Linked DNA regions of Homo sapiens: region 2 is linked to region 1. The links are contacts of gene promoters, found by promoter capture Hi-C in blood cells and fetal thymus (Javierre and others, 2016). All regions are on one chromosome and are shown on one strand. The core of a region is centred on a gene start or on the middle of the fragment in contact, and the rest is flanking DNA. Distances in the headings are between cores, read along the strand shown.

Region 1 (2,820 bases), core at 161-2,660:
TTGTTCTCTTACAAAATCTTGGGAAAATTTTTTATTTTAAATATGAAATATTGCAGGCTTACCCATATACTTAACTTTGAATTATTTGTTCTCTTGGAATTTCTCCAGTCTTGTATTTCTGTACACGAATTATTCCTTTCTGAAAACTAACTGGAATTATATAGATGTATTCCTGTAAGTGTGCCCTCCTCTTTTAGACTATGTGATTTCCATGTATTTCAGCCATGCTTTGGCTGACTCACACCTGCATTTGTTTAACTCATGATAAATACTAATAAATAAATACACTCTGAACTGGTACACAATAGGTACAATTCAGAAATTCCTTAGAGGCAAGCAGTGTCCCATTTTCATACTGGAAAATTTATTTTTCTTGCCATGTTGGTACTGAATATGGCTTGTTATCAGTCTGAATAACATTTTGTTCTGATTCATATCATGATTTTTTTTTTCAGTTTCTACATTTGTAAATAGCCTAGCATATTTTAACTGTGGACTCATTGTATGCTCATTAAAACCTCAAAAGTGCTTAGTAAATCTCCCATCCTCTTAAGACAAGTAGCACACTTGCTGGATGAAGATTGCCATGACCATAGTTTCACAGATGTTTATCTTTGATGAGACTGGGTTATTTTTGAAGGAAGAAAGTAACATGGGTAAGCATAGTGAACAGCCACATTGTGCTTAATTTAAGATTCATCTGTCTGGATTACATGGACAAGATACTTAAAGCTGGATTTAAAAATACCTCTTACCTGATTTTTAAGGTCATCGATGGTTTTGTAGTATTTGCTGTAGTCACGAGGCTCCCCCTGATGTGAGTTGCCATGCTTTTCATACCACTCCTTGATTTTGCCTTCCAGCTCATAGTTTGATTCTTCCAGAGCCCGAACTTTGTCCAAGTAGGAAGCCAGGCGGTCATTCAGATTCTGCATGGTTACTTTTTCATTTCCAGAGAGAAGGCCACCATCTCCTCCAAATCCACCACCAAAGCCTCCTCCAAAGCCGCCTCCACCAAAGCCGCCTCCACCAAAGCTGCCCCCACCAAAGCTGCCACCTCCGAAACTGCCCCCTCCAAAGATGCCTCCATAACTCCCACCAAAGCTGCTACTTCCATAGCTTCCACGAAAGCTACCTCCACCAAAACCTCCTAATCCTCCATAGCCACCTGATGAGCCCCCAAAGCAGCCCCCACCAGAGCTCCCACGGCTAAAAGAGCCACCACTGAACCCCCCTGAGCTAAATCCTCCACCAAGGGAGCCTTTGCTGCTAGAAATTCTTAGGGATGACACTCCTCCTCCTCCTCCACATCCTCCTCCTCCTCCTCCTCCTCCACTGCGGGAGGAAGAGTAGTGCTTGCTTGAGCTGTATCGAACAGACATGGTGATGCTGTTTAGCCCAGGGAGTGCCTGCTACCAAGGACAGTGACAAGCCTTTATATACTGAGAGGGTGTGTCCACATGTGTTAGAGTTTGCTTACTTACATTGTTTTCTTTTTGCCAACTTAGCATCTTTGGCTTATGATTGCATAAATTATCTTCAGTAATAACCAATCCTAATATGTACAATTTTGAATTTGCCCTAAGAATAAACAGGAGGTTTGCTATGTTGAAATTGAAAATGGGTGGAGTTCAGATGAGCATGTTTTATTATGCTTTTCACCTGTTGAAGAACATTGAGCAACCGTTAAGATCCATTTTTCTCAGCACTAATTCAGGTTGCATAGAATGTTTGCAAAGTTTAGAAAAAAAAGTTTCAGCTACAAAATTATAGTTAAAATAAGATTTTTCAAATTCATGTTTTAAACAGTTTTAATTGGAGCAACAAATAGCATAAAGTCTGGCAGGATCATGCTACAATAAGGTTCTTGTAGACAACTGTAGGGAATCAAAAAGAAAAAGTTTCTAAAAATTTAACTAGCATCAATAGTTGCCACACATAAAACATTAAAGCCATAAAACCACAATTTAGGAGATTGTGTTTGTAGGAGATCTTTTAATTTATTTGGCAAATGAGAGTATATTGATATTTTGCCTAAGAAAGTGGAAGTAATGATTTTAGAATTTTCTAATTAATGATGGCATTATTTTTAACATTAAAAAATCTGAAATCATAAAGTTATCCTGGATTATTTTGCACTTTTAAATTCATCATAGTTAAGGTTTCTGTGAAGACCATAATAATGCAGAAAATCTGCATTATTTTCTTAGCATGAAATCCGAAGAACTAACTTGTAGTACTTTACACTAAGTTCTGATTGAGTAAAAAGGGAAAATTTGGATATGTTATGATTGCAAGTAAAAATTTGCTTGCAAAAATGTAAATCTATATTAGAGAATGATACTTGCACCAAATATTATGAACTAGACTGTGCACATGTGTTCCCAAGCTAGGTTCAGTTTCTCAATAAAAACAACACATTTTCTTGGATATACTGTGTACAGAATTTGGTATAACAGTTTGTCTAGTGAAGTAAATTGGGATTTTGGTACATTGTATAAGATTATATCTACCCATAGGCTATGACATTGCTGTTGTTTGGATGTATATATTCATACATGTTTTACAATTATGTAGTGCTGTTTGTGATACTGTGCTTTAAAAATTTCTAGAACAAGCTGTTGAGATAGGAATGGTGGTTATTATTATTTCTTTTCTTTCTTTCTTTCTTTCTTTCTTTTTTTTTTTTTAGACGGAGGCTTGCTCTGTCGCCCAGGCTGGAGTGCAGTGGCGCCATCTCGGCTCACTGCAAGCTCCACCTCCCGGGTTCACGCCATTCTCCTGCCTCAGCCTCCCGAGTAGCTGGGGCTACAGGTGTGT
Region 2 (2,732 bases), core at 64-2,563, 500 kb after region 1:
GGATGGGCCCTGGATGCACCCTGGGTACACCAGGCAAGTCTCAGGCCAGGATCCCTAAACCTCAGCAGGGTGATGTGGTCACTCCCTGAGGGACTCCTGTCAGGGCCCGGCTACCCACCCTGGGTGGCACCTGTCCCGTCTCGGGCTGATTTTTCTCAGCCACCCTGGCCAGGTGACCTCCACTTTTAGTGAAGGCACCTTCCTGTGTCGCCAACTTATCTGGAGCCTTTAGAATGTCTCTGCTGAGGGCCCCACAGAAGCCCAGGACTGAACGGATACCCCCAGGGCTACACAGGTACCCCCAGGCCCCAAATGAGACGCCTTTTATCTCCATCAACAGAGGACATCTTATCCCCCCGTGGCTGCCCTCTGTGGCCTGGAGCCACACCCTCTGGCTCTGATTCTGTGCAACTGACTGTCCCCTCCGTGAGAGTCCTCCTGCCCTCCTGCTGGCCAGGCTCCAGCTGCCCTTGGTGCCCACAGATGGGTCGATGAAGCCCAGATGGCAGCATCTCCCCTTCCCATGTACCCTGGCCCGACCCCACTTCCAGGAGACGACCACGAAACCCAGCACCCACCCAGTTCTTCCCGCCCTCTGTCATGGCCTCAAAGTCAGCCTTGCCTTCCTAGCACCCGGGCCCAGGAGGCCTCCAGGAGCACCTCCGGCCAGGCTCCAGAGGATGTTCCCATCCCTCTTCCCCAGGGCCAAGGCCGCATGGTGGGGTCACCAGGTGGGAGGGTGGGAGGCCCGGTGTTCATGGGCCTTTGCAGCTGCCCAGCAATTCCAGCCGACAGTTCCACATCTTGGGAACAGGCTCTGATTTCATGATGGGCTGGAGGCTTCTCAGGATTCCACAGCCCAAATGGCACAGGGGTCCAGGGGCTCCAAGACCACCAGGAGCATGTGGTACCCACGTCACACCCCAAGACCATGAGGCACTTGGTGAGTTTATGGTCCCCTCGACTCTTCCCTAGAGGCCCAGCATCCCATGGGGCCAGAGGAGTCGGGGGTGCTGGAGCCCCTCGTGGGGCTGGTGAGAGGCTGAGTCCCAGCCAGGGCCTGACCTGGGACGTGGGGTTCTCCATGTACTGGGAGTTGGGTTTCCTTTCCTGCCCTGGAGGAGACAGAGGCACAGGGACAGGGGCCCAGCTCCTGCAGAGCAGGGCTGAGGGCAGTGTGTCCACTGGGAATGCAGGAAGGGGGAAGGTGTTGTGGGGAGCCCTGGACACCACCCAGTACTCTGCACTTGGGGAAGGGTCTTCAGAGGGCCCTAGAAGAAGGAGGTTTTTAGGGCAGGCTAGGGGGCCCTGAGCACCTCTGTTCCTCCTGTCGGGACACGGAAGGGCTATGTGCTCAAGGTTCCTCATTAGCTTGGCTTCTACAGAGGGTGATCAATGGGATAAGGAGGCACAGGGAGACCGTGGCTCAGGGACCCTCCTTGCCCTGCAGTGCTCTACTTCCCCAGCCCAGGGGTCTGGCTCACCCCCAGCCCACAGGAGGCTCAGGCAGGTCCCTGTAGGACACACAAGCAAGGCCCTCTGCCCAAGAGGGGTCATCCCCCAGCAGAGGCCAGGGCTCAGGCCCAGCCTCATGGATAGACTGACCCAGGACCTAACTTGGGAGGGCTCAGGGAAGCCAGACCCAGCCTCCTGGAGGGGTCAGATGACCCTCATGGGGAGGGTCACTGACTCTGGGGGACTGAAGCCCCAGTGGGCCCAGATCCAGCCACCAGCCTCCAGCCTGGACGAGCCAGGGCCTCCCACACCTGTGTCCCCACAGATCTCTCTCGGGCTCACCCTAAGCCTGTGGAGGGTGTATTTGGTAGAAAGGAACAGGTGTTGATGCCAATGGCACGCACTGCCTTCAAGGTTCAGAGGAGTAAGTCCACGTGTGCCCAGTGGGGCCTGGGAAGCTCTGGGGTCAGACCCCGACTGGCCCAAGGGCAGCTTCCTCACACTGTCCCCATGTTTCTCTGCTCCAGCCCAGAAGAAGGTCTGGCCTGGTGAGCAGGGCAGGGCACAGTGATGCCGAGCCCATCCCGCACGTGACCCAGATGAAAGTCGGGAGTGTGGCAAGCACTTCCCTGCCCAGGCCTCCCCCAAACCACAGCCTCCTGTGCACATCTGCACCCCTGTTGTGGCCACAAAATGATCCGGCACCACCCAGTGGGAGACGACAGAGGTGGCAATGGGGTGTCGGCTCTGACGCCTCCCAGGGAACTTTCCTGGCCTGATCCTCACCCTGTCCCTAGAGCACCTCATGAAGGCTTCCAGGTCTGGCCTGTGGGCGCGTTTTCAGGACCAGTTCCCCCAAACCTGGGCCCTGGACAGTGATGCAGTTCTTAGGCACCTTCAGGCCTCTGTGCTCTGTAAGGAAACTACCAGGAAGCATGGGGACCTGCCACCCCCAGGAAGGCTCCAATACCCAGTCCCCCCACCAAGTCACCTTCTGGGGCAGTCAATAGTGGGGGAGTGCCTGTGACCCCAAACCTGGGCCTTCCTCTTACATCTTTTCTTCCTCCTCTTCCTCCTGGATGCTAAGTAAGTGCAGGAGGCCCACCGGTCCTCAGGGCAGGCGCTCAGTGCGTGTGTACTGGTACTCAGTGCTGTGCACACAGGAGGGGGATGTGGGCAAGACCCTCCAACAAACCCCCTCCCACTTTCCATTGTCCTGCCCTCCCCCTCAAATGGCCCTCAAGGGCATTGGAAGAGCCAGGCCTATTTGGGGGAGC

What was found. Contacts are between HindIII fragments. The CHiCAGO score rates a contact against its expected background, and 5 or more counts as called.
Region 2: a contact is called between a fragment that was not itself captured here and the fragment with the promoter of KRT10 in region 1, in 2 of 17 cell types (M0 macrophages and M1 macrophages). The highest score is 5.8, in M0 macrophages.

Annotation. Positions count from the first base shown.
Region 1 is chr17:40,821,204-40,824,023 of GRCh38, forward strand. KRT10 (keratin 10) reads right to left here and starts at 1,411. Exons shown (of 8, transcript NM_000421.5): 1 at 756-1,411. The coding sequence starts at 1,382. All of the region lies in intron 1 of KRT10-AS1 (KRT10 antisense RNA 1), which reads left to right. The HindIII fragment of the contact is 8,212 bases long and covers 1-2,820 here.
Region 2 is chr17:41,324,850-41,327,581 of GRCh38, forward strand. It overlaps the pseudogene TBC1D3P7. Among named protein-coding and RNA genes, the nearest start is that of KRTAP17-1, 11 kb to the left of the region's middle. The HindIII fragment of the contact is 7,062 bases long and covers 1-2,732 here.